Linked DNA regions of Homo sapiens: region 1 is linked to region 2. Evidence: promoter capture Hi-C in human tissues and cell types (Jung and others, 2019). All regions are on one chromosome and are shown on one strand. The core of a region is centred on a gene start or on the middle of the fragment in contact, and the rest is flanking DNA. Distances in the headings are between cores, read along the strand shown. Region 1 overlaps MID2 (midline 2). Region 2 holds the start of TSC22D3 (TSC22 domain family member 3).

The links. Contacts are between HindIII fragments. The study calls those that stand out against the background at their distance.
Region 1: a fragment that was not itself captured here is called in contact with the fragment with the promoter of TSC22D3 in region 2 in 2 of the 25 tissues and cell types used here (heart left ventricle and hippocampus).

The regions. Positions count from the first base shown.
Region 1 is chrX:107,907,514-107,914,994 of GRCh38, forward strand. The region is part of intron 5 of MID2 (midline 2); the gene reads left to right. All of the region lies in intron 3 of LOC101928335 (a long non-coding RNA gene), which reads right to left. Among named protein-coding and RNA genes, the nearest start is that of TEX13B, 71 kb to the right of the region's middle. The HindIII fragment of the contact is 6,811 bases long and covers 2,231-7,481 here.
Region 2 is chrX:107,770,636-107,777,507 of GRCh38, forward strand. It overlaps TSC22D3 (TSC22 domain family member 3), which reads right to left and starts at 5,152. Exons shown (of 3, transcript NM_198057.3): 1 at 4,465-5,152. The coding sequence starts at 4,784. RefSeq lists enhancers at 3,921-4,498, 4,499-5,075, 5,352-5,401 and silencers at 5,164-5,458, 5,432-5,491. The HindIII fragment of the contact is 10,233 bases long and covers 1,969-6,872 here.

The sequences.
Region 1 (7,481 bases), core at 4,386-6,885, 140 kb after region 2:
GTGCTTTGGCCAAATACACTCTTTTTTCCATAGCTTCAATTTATCCCTCTCTATAGTTGACTTCACATCCATTTTTAACCCACTCATGTCTTTCCTACCTAAAACCAACCAAACAAAAAAACCCCATGACTTTCCTCTACTTCATATCCCCTCCAATTATCACCTGTCCCTCTCCTTCCCTGCACAGCAAACTTCGCGAAAGACTTTACATTTCTTCACCCCTAATTTACTCTTCTGAAATATTTAAAATGTATTTATATCCAAGTAATACCTTGTGCATAGTTAGAAAGTAAAATATTACTATAAGTCATATTGCAAGAAATAGCAATCTCCTCATTCTCAATGTCTGCTCTCTGATAATACCATTATCAATAGAGTTCTTACTTTGTACTGGGCATTATTTTAAGCCTTCATAAGTATTAACTCACTTAATCCTCAAAAAAACTTTATGAGGTAGATACTACTTTTATCCCCATTTTATAAATGAGAGAACGATGTTCAGAGAGGTTAAATAACTTGCTTACAATTGTCCAACTAGTAAGGGGCACAGGCAAGATTCAAATTTAGGGAGTCTAGTGCCACAGTCTACACTTTTACAACAAAGCCAAGCAATTTCAGCTCTATCAGATGTTTTTATTGGCATGACCTTACATTTCTAAATAACATCCTTACATTGGTAGTTTTAATTTTTTTCAACTTTAGACAGTATCAATTAACTTCTGCAAATTTGGACTTTTTTTCTGCCACTACTTCTACAAATATTTTTATGCCACTTCCTTCCTCTCTATTCGGGATTCCAATTACATGTATATTTGGCTGTCTGAAATTGTCCTATAGCTTACCAATGCTCTATTTTTGTTTTGCAGTCTTTTTATTTTTTTGCCATTGTGAAAACACATGCAAGTGTGTTTCATTTTGGATAGCTTCTATTGATATATCTTCAAGTTCACTAGCCTTTTCTTCTGTGATACCTAATCTGCTGTTAACCCCTCCAGTGTATTTTTTATCTTAGATATTATAACTTTCATCTCTAGTTTGATTTGGGTCTTTTAAAAAATGTCTTCCATATCTCAAGATATTCAGGCTGGGTGTGGTGGCTCACACCTTTAATCACAGCACTCTGGGAGGCTGAGGTGGGAAGATCACTTGAGACCAGCCTGGGCAACATAGCGAGATTCCATCTAAAAAAAAAAAAAAAAAAGCCTGCATCTGGTGACATGTGCCTGTAGTCCTAGCTACTTGGGAGGCTGAAGCAAGAGGATCTTCTGAGCCCAGGAGTTCAAGGGTACAGTGGGTCACGATGCTGCCACTGCACTCCAGCCTGGGCAACAGGACAATGTCTTGTCTCTGAAAACAAAAAAAGATATTTAGCCTTTCCTCTAGCTTTCTGAACATATGGAATACAGTTAAAATAATTGCTTTTATGTCCTTGCTTGCTAATTCTAATACCTGTGTCATATCTGGGTCCGTTTCAATTGGTTGCCTTTTCTTCTCATTATGGATTGTATTTTCTTGATTTTTTGCCTATCAGGTAATTTTTTACTGGATATCAGACTTGTTAATTTTCTCTTTCGGGATGCTGTATATTTTTGTATTCCTATAAATATTCTTAAACTTTGTTCTGAGACACAGTTAAGTTACTTGAAAACAGCTTGATCCTTTCAAGTCTTGGTTTTCAGATTTGATAGGTGAGATCAGAGCAATGTTTAGTCTAGAGACAATTTTTCTCCACTACTGAGGCAAAACCCTTCTGAGTACTCTATTCCAGTGTCCTGTGAGTCATGAGATTTTCCAGTTTAGCTGGTAGGAACACACACTATTGCTAGACCTATGTGAGTACCAGGGATTGTTCCCTCTTATCTTTTTGGGTGGCTCTTTCCCCAGCATTATGCAGTTTCCTCGCATGCATTTGTTGATCAGTATTCTGTTGACTACTAGAGGGAAACTCTGAAGGTCTCTAGAATTCTCTCTGCAGCTTTTTCCTCTCTGGTACTATGTCCTGTGAACTCCAGCCAACTTCGTCCACTTGGATTCTCAGCTCTGTCTCCTTAATTTTAGGGAACTCATTGGGCTCTGCCTGGATTTCCCCTTCCTGTACCACTTGATTCCCTTAAGCTTTTCAAACAAACGCTCCTGTAGTTTCTTAAGAAAGAGTACATGGGAAGTAAATTTTCAAGAACTTTTTGCCTAAAAATATTTCAAGTTAATTTTCACACTTGATAGGTTGGAAATAAATTTTGAAGGCATGACTTCATTGTCTCCTGGCTTCCATTATTGTGTTGAGACGTTCACTGCCGTTTTGAATCCAGATCTTTTGAATATAACCTATGTTTTAAAATCCAGAAGCTTAAACAAAAGTTAATATTACTTTTAATTGACAAATCATAGTTGTATACATTAATGGGTTGCAATGTGATGTTTTCATATATGCATACAATGTGGAATGACTAATCAAAGCCAATTAACATATCCATTACCTCACCATTTTTTGTGGTCAGCCATTGAGATTTACTCTTTTAGCTATTTTGAAACATACAATATGTTATTATTGATTATATTCACACTGCTGCACAACAGATCTCAGAAACTTATTCCTCCTGTCTAACTGAAACTTTATACCCTTTGTCCAACAACTCCCCATTCCCTCCTCATACCAGCCTCTAGTAACCACCATTCTACTCTCTATTTCTATGAGTTTGATTTTTTCAGATTCCACCTATGTGCGAGATCATATGGTATTTGTCTTTCTGTGCCTGGCTTATTTTACTTAGCATACATCCTCCAGGTTCATTTATGCTGTCAAGGATAACAGGATTTCCTCCAACTTCAGTGGCTGAAAGGTATTACATTATGTATCTATACCACATTTTCTTTATCCATTCATCCATTGATAGAAACTTAGGTAGATACCATATCTTGGCTATTCTGAATAATGCTTCAGTGAACATGGGAATGCAGATATTTCTTTGACATATTGATTTCAACTTCTTTGGATATATACTGACTAGTGGGATTGCTGGATCCTACAGTAGTTCTATTTTTAGTTTTTTGAGGAACCTCCATACTGTTTTTTATAATGGCTGTACTAATTTATATTCCCACCAACAATGTATAAGGGTTCCCTTTTCTCTACATCCTCACCAGCACTTATCCTTCCTCCTTTTAATAATAGCCATTACGATCTAGAAGTTTTAAAGATCTTATCTTTAACCCAGTTTTTCTGAAATTTCATCAAGATTTGCCTCTGTTATAGATTTTCCTTTCCTTTCCTTTCCTTTCCTTTCCTTTCCTTTCCTTTCCTTTCCTTTCCTTTCCTTTCCTTTCCCTCTCTCTTTCTCCCTCTCTCTCTCTTTCCTTCTTTCTTTCTTCTTGTTCTGTTGCCCAGGCTGGAGTGCAGTGGCACGATCTCAGCTCACTGCAATCTCTGCCTCCCAGATTCAAGTGATTCTTCTGCCTCAGCCTCCCTGGTAGCTGGGACTACAGGCTCACGCCATTACGCCCGGCTAATTTTGGTATTTTTAGTAGAGATGTGGTTTCACCATGTTGGCCAGGGTGGTCTCGAACTCCTGATCTCCAGTGATCTGCCCACCTTGGCCTCCCAAAGTGCTGAGATTACAGGTGTGAGCCACCGTGTCTGGCGCGTTGTGGACTTTTTGTCATTCATTTTTCCTGGGCACTCAGTGAATCTTTCTAATCTAAAGACTGGTGACCTCTAGCTCTGGGAAATGTTCTTGTATTATTTGCTAATAATTTCCTCCCCTTTATTCTTTCTCTTCTTTGTTTATGGGACTTTGATTAGTGAACTGTTGGACATCCTAGACTTTTTTTCTCTAATTTTATCTTTTCCATTTTCCATGACTTTGTCTTCTTATTTTACTAAGATACTTCCTTAATTTTTCATTAAATCCTTCTATTGAAATTTTAATTTCAGCATTCCTAATTTTATTCACAAGAGCTCATCCTTCACCTTGTTTCTTTTTTAGCATTCTGTTTTTGCTTTGTGGATACGAACTATTTGGTTTTCTTCTTGAGAATATTGTCATTTTTAAAAGTTTGCTTCTAAACCCTGCATTGTCTGGGTTTCCTCCCAGTTCCTTTTCTCTGTTAGTTTAAATTGCTGTCTTTTCCTAAATATCTGGCAAACTACTGGCTGTGTGTTTGAGTTTAAGCACTAAAAGATGACTGGAAACTCTGAGTGGATGGGAATAATTTATGGGTTGGTGAACTTTGCTATAGGATTATAAGGCGGAATGCTGGCTTTTTATTGATGGACTCCCAAGTGTCAGTTCTGTAGGTCTTTTCTCTTGGGTCAGTTTCCCTTGGATGAAATCCTCCAATCTCCTGCTTTTGATTGGAGGGGCAGCGGTGTGGAAGGTATAAGCCTGGCTGCCAGCATTCTGGGAGCCAAGGAGGGAAAAGGAGCTGAGAGTTTTAAGACTGCTTTTAGTATAATGTCAAAGATCAGCAGAAAGTAAAACTCACATATCCTGCCAGAATGAGGGAAGGGTAGTCTCTGGTTTAGTGTGCATGGATCTGTGGATCTAGTTGTTCCTCATGCAAACTTTCAACTTTCTGTGGCACTAAATCAACTTGATGTTGTTGGCTTCCTGATCTAGCTTTCTCTGGACTGTTATTGGTTACCACACATTCATCCCTTTCTAGCTTCCAAACATTTGTTGACAATCTTTTACTTGTTGGCATCTCTTTTCCATTCTCTTTGTCTTTGTGGGTTTATGACATTTCATTCTTTGACTGTTATTTCAGTGAGATTTCATGAAAGCAAAAATAAAACATATATTCAAACCACTGTATTTAATAATCTCTGCTCTCCAACCCTCTGAAATGTTTTGTCCCACTACCACACCATTGAAAGTATTCTTTTCAAGGTCATCAAATGAATACCTTGTTGCTAAATATAATAGACACCCCTTTGTTTCATCTTACTTGATCTCTCAGTAGCATTTGTCCTCCTGAACATTTTTACTTGAAATTTCTCTGCCCTTACCTTCCATGAACACTCCTGGTTTTCTTCCTACTTTGTTGTTTTTGTTTTGTTTTGCCTTTGTGAGCAATGTTTCCTTGGCCTATTCCTTTAATGCTATTGTTCTTTGTGATTGTGTCTTAGGTTATTCTCTTCTCTCATTACACGTTCTCCTTGTTGCAAACTCATTGGTTCCTAGGGCTTCAATTACCATCTAGATGGTTATGATTCCCAACTCTTTATCTGAATCTTCTTTGCATAGGCTCAGGTATAACCTGAGGTGTAGGTGGAATAGATGACTATCTATGTAGTATGACTTGAGAATCATCTACTCACCTTCAATACTGGTCTCCCACAGGGTCTGAAATTTTCCCCCACCATTATGCATTGTATTGTGTTAAGCCACCATGACTTCAGTTAAAATGAAATTTTAGCTGGGAGAGATATGCCTTTCCCCTTACAAATGACACCTTATATTATGTGCAATAGAAACCAAGGCCTTGAGAGACTGCAACAAGATCGCTAATGTTGTGTTTTGCTTAAATAAAAAAACACAGACAGTCAGATACACACACACACACACCCCACCATGTCACTTTTAACCCATTCTTAACCTTTGGTCCATCATTAACATTTAGGAATATGGTATTCTAATATTTCTATTTAGATATATTTCACAAACATGATATGCTATATATACTATATTATACTCTACATTTGAAACAATGTATCACAAACTTTTCTCTATATCATTGGATATTATAAAACCTGATTTCCAATTGCTTCATGTTATTTTATCTTTTGATGTATAGTACATTACTTAACTCAGTCTCCACTGTTAGACAATCAGGCTACATATGGTGTGTTGAGTGCCCTTGTAGTTCTATCTTTGCATACATCTCAATTATTTCCATAATAAAAATTTTATGAAATAGAACTGTGGTGTCAAAGAAGACTTATATTTTAAGCTATTTTGAAATTTAATGCTAATTTGGCCTTCAAAATATGTATCAATTTCAATCCTAATACAAATATGTAGGCATTATTGACTATAGGCATAAAAGCTCCTATGCTGTCATTTGTTTGTAATTTAAACGCTATCTCATTTTAATTTACATTTCTTTGATTTCTCATAAAGTTGGACTTTTTAAATATATTTATTGGCCATTTGTTTGCTTTGACTTTGTTTTCTTTGATGCTTTGTGAATTAACCCTTTTTGTTTTGTTTGTTTACACTCATGCTTATTCCAAGACACTTTAAAATCTGGTCTCTTTGCCTCCAATTTTGACCCTTTCCAATCCCTCCACTGAAGCCATAGTAGTATTCCTGAAACATGAATTTCAGCATATTATTTCCCCACCTAATGCTTAGTGACCCCCATCGTTCTTAAGATAAAATCCAACGTTTGTAACGTGGCCTACAAAGTCCTGCATGATTTTGTCTCATTCTCCAGGCTTCAAACAAGAGAGAACACACACACATCCACATAGTCTTTGCTTAGTTAACTCTTACTCATTACATAGGTCATTGGTGAAAATCGACTTCCACATGGGAGATTTCCCTTAGCTCCCAAGTCTCTTTAGATAACTCCTGTGTATGCTCTACTCCCTTTGTAGCAGCACTTCTATTGCCCACGTAATGTCTTTCTCCTTCATGATGTGTGAGCTCTTGAAGGCAAGAACCACAGCAAAGCTTGTTCACTTTGTGTATCTCCAGTGCCCAGTACAGTGCCTGGCACATTAGTTGTGCTTAATAAGTATTGGATAGATGGATGGAGGAAATAAAGAAGATTGGAGAGGCCAGAAAGAAATTCCATGAGCTAATTTTCTAGATTAACTGTTATCCTAAAGAAGTTGTTGTCTCCTTACTCACCAAATCCTGGCTATTCATGTGAGACCTTATGATTGTACTGAGCTAGTCTTTCATTTGGCCTGTAGTTTATCACTGAAACATCTCTATTTTCAGAAACAATAAGAGGTGTTGTTGGTAGATGTATAGCAGGGTATATGTACATGAGGATATGTATTTTTCAGTTTCCCATTCCCTTACAACTAGTTCACCATAAAAGTTTCCTCTCTGGTCTTCCTACATTCAATGCCTTTTCTCTCTCCTCTAACCTACATATTATTGCCAAGTGAATTTTTCTTTCCTCACCATCATTTACATGTTCAAGGATCTCATTGGCTCTGATTTAGAAGATCTTGCACAGGACTAAAACATGTATATTTTGGCAAAAGCTCCTCCAGATAATCCTGATGTGTAGCGATGGCTAAAAATTGCTGAAATATATAAAATATACCTCAATTTTTTGAAGAAAAGAACAGTCTAAATGGTTAAGGTTATAGAATTTAGAATCAGATGGACATGGGCTCAATTATATTTCTGACTCTTACTGGTTGTGTGATCTTGGACAAGTTACTTAGCATTTTAATGTGCCAACTTTCTCATTCGCAAAATGGAAATAACATCTACTACATAGTGTTATGGTAAAGAGTAAAT
Region 2 (6,872 bases), core at 3,902-6,401:
TTCAGACCACACTAGCCAGGTACGCTCTGGGGTCAAAGGTAGAATAGAGCTGATTAAGAGGTTTTGGGTAAAATCTTAGAAAAAAATTTGAGGTTACAGCAACAGCAATCACAACGAATACTGTCAAAGCTCCTGTTACAGGTTGTTATACCTTACAGGTCAGAAAAATTAAGGAAGGCTCTTCAAATGTCAACTTGGGAAGCTTTTTCATATGCTACATTTAAATTGGAAACTTCTGCTGTTTGCCCAGAATATTCTATCTCCCTCCTAAGTTTTCCAGTATTAGAAGCATATTCAAATGACAAGGGGGAAGTCCCCTAACAACAGGGTGACCAACCATCCCAGTTTCCCTAGGACTGTTCCAGTTTGAGCACAGGCAGTCCTATGTCACAGGACTGGGATGGTTGGTTTCCCTACCTAATAAGGACATTTTGACCATTTGGAAAGGTTCTGAGCTCACATTTACCTCTGCTTCATAGACAATTCTTAAGTGTTACAAGAATTTCTTTAGCATTAGTTTAGTTACTGAGTGTTCTTAACAATTCTTTCTTCATAGACAATTCAGGCTCTGCTCTTCATTGTGAGGCATTGGGCAAGATACTTAATTTTTTCCAAGCCTCAATTTCCTTCTTTATAAAATGAAAATGGATGATAATAGTACCCATTTGGTCGGGCGCAGTGGCTCATGCCTGTAATCCCAGCACCTTGGGAGGCCGAGGCTGGTGGATCATTTGAGATCAGGAGATCGAGACCAGCCTGACTAATATGGTGAAACCCCATCTCTACGAAAAATACAAAAATTAGCCGAGTGTGGTGGCGTGCGCCTGTAGTCCCAGCTACTGAGGAGGCTGAGACAGGGGAATTGCTTGAACCCAGGAGGTGGAGACTGCAGTGAGCTGAGATCGTGCCACTGCACTCCAGCCTGGGCGACAGAACAAGACTCCGTCTCAAAATAAATAAATAAATAAACAAATAAATAAATAAATCCATTCCAAAGAGTTGATGTAAATATTAAATTAGATTATGCAGGTACATTGTGAATGTTCAAGAAGTGTTAGTTATTAATCTGTTATGGTTATTAGTTACATAATACAAGATTGAAAGGATGGTGTTTAAAATACACTTCTTCCCCAACCCAATTGTTTACAGGTACCATTTACATACCAACAGGCTGCATGCCCATTCTCACTGATTCGTATGTATATACACAGCACTATCAGGACTTCCATCAGGCTATGAGAGTTACTGCATGTGGTTAAAACGGAAGGAAAACAACTTTTAAACATTAATAAGGATTTTCTAGCACAGTATAAAGTTGTAAAATCTTTACAAGGGACCACGTCAATATTTAAGTAGTCATCCAACTGAAGAAACCTTTATTGAATATTGGCTGTATAACTAAAAGCCAAGGGAAAACCAAGCAAGTAAAACACAGCCCTACCCTCAAATTGCTTATACTCTTGTGTTCCAAGGAAACCAAGAACGAAGCTGGGAGCCAGGGACAGGTCAAAGCAGACAAACCAGATGTAAATCAAGAATGTGCCCTGCTCTTCTTCCTAAAAATATAGGAGCCCTCTTGGCAAAGGAATGGACTGCAGGAGGAGGGGTGGGAGACTAGCTTCTCCAGCAGGAGAGGCCTTGAAAGTTGACAAAGGAAAAAAGCACCCAACAGGAACCTGAAATGTCAAATCATTAAATTGAATAGAAGTAAAAACGATGGCTGAAGTATGATGATAGAAACCCAGGGAATTTAATGAAGTAACAAGGGATATGTTCACTTAGGAGAAGGCTGTCTACCCCAGATATTGGAGAAGCCCCATGACCAGCAATAATGGTCTTCTAGTTTGCTAATGAGCATGTCATACTGGGCAAAACCTAAACCGAATTCAGAATCCCCAGTCTCTAAGGTCCCAATTGTCAAGGAAAACAAGAGGGGATCAGTGGCTCATGCCTGTGATCCTGGCACTTTGGGAGGCTGAGGTGGGCAGGTCGCTTAAGCCCAGGAGTTTGAGACCAGCCTGCACAACATGGCAAGATCCCGTCCCTATAAAAAAAAAATACAAAAATTAGCTGGGCATGGTGGTGTGTGCCTGTAGTCCCAGCTACTTGGGAGGCTGAAGTGGGAGGATCGATGGAGCCCAGGAGTTTGAGGCTGCAGTGAGCTGTGATCATGCAACTGCACTCCAGCCTGGGTGACAGAGTGAGACCCTGTCTCAGGAAAAAAATAAATAAATAAAAATAAATAAAAGCAAGAGAATACTTTGTCCTCTTAGAACTATAAGACTGTTACCACAGGACCCTGTTATTCCCAGCCTTAGCGAAGCCTGAGAGCTTGCTGGTTAGCTCCTCACTGGTTTTGAACGCTGAGTGAGTTGCTCTGATCGAAGGAGGCAGGGTGCTCACACAAACCTTTCCTACAATTTGCGCTTCTCCCTCAACCAATACCTATAATGCCACCCCACTACATCTCCACCCTGTAGCATTTCCAGGCTTTGCCTAAAACCAAGAGTCAATAAACTCGTATTAGTGGAGTAGATGACAAAGGAGGTATTCCCTTTCCACAAACCCAAACAACCAGGATGCTCCCGAGGTGTGGCAGAAGGAAACACTTTGATCTCAGGCTTTTAGCCTCACACTTCCCTCACCCAGGTTTGACCCTCCTAGGGCCAGAACCAGAAGAGGCGCCCCCTCTCACACTTTCCTAAAGCCTGGAGTGGCAGTTTCTCTCCCAGTTGAACAAATGCAAATGCTACAAGCGCTCTTTCCAGGTTTTTCTACTACCCCTCCCCCACTGCCACTCTCCAACAGAGACAGGCGGGATCCTTAGGAGCCTGTTAGGGCTTTCGCTTGGCAGGATTTCAACGTCTGTGGGCTGAATACACTTGTAGTAATCTTTCACTAGAAATGAAGATTCCCTCGAAACCTTTCTGCCCGCAGCCTGGTTTATTTTATTTTATTATTTTTAAAAATTCAGCCTGGTTTATTTTAGACAATGAGATAATTTGATGCCTAAAGTGAAATAATAGATGAGAAAGGGCTTCAATGGTGTCGAAAATGCCCGAGGAATACGACTTGTTATAATAACACTAACGAGGTTAGCGGCCCTGCTTGTCTTGCCCAGAATCACTGGGGCTGGGCTGAGCGGGAGGCGATGGTGGATTTGTCTTGGGGCAAGGGAGGCAAACCTGCTCTTAGCATTAAGTGAGAATAGCGCCTGCCTTTCTCGATTGCTTTTAAAATTTCCTATTTGAGCCTGCTTGCATTCTAAATATTTTGTAGGTGCTCAGAATTTCTTATCACTTTGTCTGGGCACATCGCCTGCCTACAGCCTAGAATCTCAGAGCTAAAAGGAACCTTGGAGAGACTAGAGAGGTCAGGCGACTTGCTCAGGCTCATACAAACAGGTGAAGCCATAACTTGTACTACAACCCAGGTCTCCCACAGTGGCGATGTCTTTCTCTTACATAACCTGTGTTGTTGAGCAAGAATAAATCCTCGCTTATACACTCACACACACATGTTGGTGCCCTATCCTGATGGCGCTAAGGACACTAAATCCATGGCTGGGTTTCCTGATGTTGTCTGCCCTGCCTCTAAATTGCCTCAGTTGTTCCCAGAGACTGGTTCTTGCCAGAGTGTCTCAAACTGAAGGACAGCAGCTGCCTTGGGTCTTCCCATTGTGTTTTTTCCCTCCCTTGTCCTCTCCTTGCCTCCCCAGCAGGATTTCTAGAAAGCTTGACCGGTACACCAATACACGCCTGCAACGACATGGATTCATCCGCCCTCCTGCCACACATAGTTCTTGAGGCACTCAAGATGTCCTAGGGTGCTCTCTGGGGTTGCGCTTAGCTTACATTTGAAATTTAACGCTGTGATCCATGGAGGAGGCGAATCCCTCCCATCCAGAGGCTCAAGAAATTCTCACAAGTCTCTGATTTTTAAAAATTTTCCCCTCCCCATCTCCCTCTCCTACCACCAGCAGTTTAATTTGTCTTGACATTTTGCTTGCCCTCACTGTCAGTCAGGGGCACTCAGTAATTTTAAAGCCCTTGTAGTTTCAATCTGATTTTGCACATTTGAGATGGGCTTTTGAGAAGGGTAGAACTTGGAACTCAAGAAGACCCCATGGCAGAATCTCCAAAGGGGCTATGGAAATGTATGCATTTGAGGAGCGGGTACTTTCAGCTACCTCCAAACCATCTGGGGTCTGCCCACCTTCTAGGCCCCAGCGTCCCCATCAGAAAGCCTTTGCAGGCAGCTTTCAGAATAGGGCTTGCACCTGCCAGTCCTCCCCTCAGCTCCGCGGTACTCCAGGCAACCTCAAGGTCCAGTCACTGTAGCCTGAGTCAGACCTCCCCAGTACCCCTCCTGAACTTCCTAGTTGCCCCTTTTGCCAGAGATGAGGGTGCAGCAGAGGCTGGTGGGAGCAAGGACCGAGTTGCCGCCGTGTGCCGAGCCACCCACCTGTGGAAGAAGAGCAGGATGGAGAGCATGGTCTGGTCGATGTTGCGGTTGCAGATGCCCTCGTTGATCAGGTAGCAGGGGTCCCGCAGCACCGGCTCTAGCGAATCCTGCCGCATTATGCTGTTGAGCTTGTCGGTATTGAGGTTCTCAAAGACCAGCTTTTCCTGCAGCTGCCGAAAGTTGCTCACTGTAGGGCTGCCCGGGTTGTTGTTCTCCCCGCTGCTGCCTCGCTGGAGCCCACTCCGATGGGCCAGGTCCAGGCAGCAGTTGCAGCAGTCGAGGCCGACAGGTGAGCGGCAATCGAGCTTGGACTGGGCCATCTTCTCAGGCTCGGAGGTCGCCTGGCCTGCGAGGTCAGGGGCGGCTGGCAGGTGCGCGCCCACCGAGCTGGCCTGAGGGGACTCCAGGGTGCCTGGAAAAGACAAGCTGTGAGGAAAAGAGTTGGAAATTAGCGCCTAAAGCCAGCCACCTTCGGCTCGGCCCCCTTCTGGCTGTACTGCTCCGGGTGCGAATAGAAACAGCTGGACAAACAGCTCCGAGCGGATCCTTCGGGCTCACTTCCTCCTCTTCCTCCTTCTCCTCCCCCTCCTCTTGAGGCCGGGGGCCGCCCCCCTGAGGTGCCACACGCGGCCCCAGCGCAGTCCCAAGTTTCCCAAGTGTGAGCGGGGATTGGGGCGGACCTGTGGAGGCAGGAAGGGCGGGCAGCAGGGCAGAGGGAGAGCCAGGGCGCGCCCTTGCTCCCTCCCTCCTTTGCTCCCTCCCTCCCCGGTTTGCAGGCTCTCAGGCTCTCGGGCTCCCCTGGGCTGTGACGGCTGAGCGGTGGCAGGAGCTGAGAGCGAGTGAGCTAGTTAGCGGTCTGCACGCCCGGGAGTCAGCACTGGGATATGACAGCATGTAAATTACCCTAGAGGGGACGGCGGAGAACGGTCCTCCGCCACTTCTCCGGCTGGCGGGCGGGGGCCCCGAGCGGCTGGATCCTGTCCCTCCACCCCTCGCCCCACCCCGCCCGCACCCTTGTGCCCTGGCATCCACGCTGCCGCTCGCACCCTCGCCCGCGCTCCTGGGAGCCGGCCCGGCTCTCACTCTCTCGGCGAGCCGGACGCTTCGGTTCAGGCTCTTTCAGCGCTCATGGCGCATCCTCCGCCAGAAATACGCACGCAGCCCACCCGGGCTGCCGTGCCCCCTCAGTGGCCCGGTCTCGCGGGGCTCGAGCTCGGCGTGAGGGCAAATGTCTCTAGTCTCACCTCGAATGGGTCCCCCTACAGAAGAGACGACGCCCTCGAGAGCCCCAAGTGTTGTAGCCTTAAACTGCCGCCCTCCAAAGCCCCCCTTTTTCTGGGGGGGGGGCGTGCAAGGAGAGCGGTTGCCTCTGCAGAGAGTCAGAGAGTGCCAGGCACACATTAGGAGTACCCAATAAATGCCGTAAGCAAAACTCAGAGAAGCACGCTCAAACTCTCCTCAGTTTCTGTCTCTTTCTGCTTACTTAACGATATCGTCACCTCCTTTCCCCAGCTCGCTGTGTCCTCTCTTCCCTGAACCCCTCAGAGGCAGTCTCTGTCCCGGTTTCCCTCTGCCCCTTCGCCGTCTCTCCTCAGTCCTCCCCTTCCTTCTCTCTGCTCTTCTGCTTCCACTCATTCCACTATTTCCCTTATTTTTTCTCTTTTCTTTACCCATTTCCTCTACTTTCTCCCCCATTTCCATTCTTTTACCTTTCTTTCCTTATTTCTTTTCTCCTTTTCTCTATTTCCTCATTTCCCCTTTCTCCCCTTTCCTCTTTTCTCTCATTTTTCTCTCCCCTACCCCCGCCATTTCCCTTATTTTCCCCTCATTTCTTACTTCAGCACCCCCTCTTTTTCCTCACTTCACTTACCTTCTCCTATTTCTCCAAATTTGTTGTCCTTCTCCTTTTCTGAACCTTACCTGCCACCTTAGTTGATCTCCGTCTGTCGTTACCCTTTCAATAGATGTAGCGATTGCATGTTCACAGGCCTGAGGGGCGTGCCCCAGCTCTGTAAGATGGAGGGATGTTCTGGGTGGGCAAGTGGTGGGTTTCCAGGGTTTCTCAGGACTCAGAGACTTGGAATACTTTAAATGTGTAGGATTAAATAACGATTAGTGTCTGAAAAAACTAAACTTTTCATGACGTTCAGTTTTCACGTAAAACTGACTTACATTTCAGTCAGTACTCCCCACCCCCGCATCGGCTCCTTCATTCACAAGTCTGGCCTTTGAAATAGAGCAGCATATACTGCCATCTAGTGTCCAAGACGTTGAACGTTCTCTGCCTGCGTCACAGAAGCTCGGAGAGGCACCAGAGGTACCTCCTGGTGGAATCCACAGTGCGTTGGTTCCAAGAGTAGCAGGGAAGAAGTGTAGGAGGCGGAGCTGCTACACTAAGAGAGTTCTGT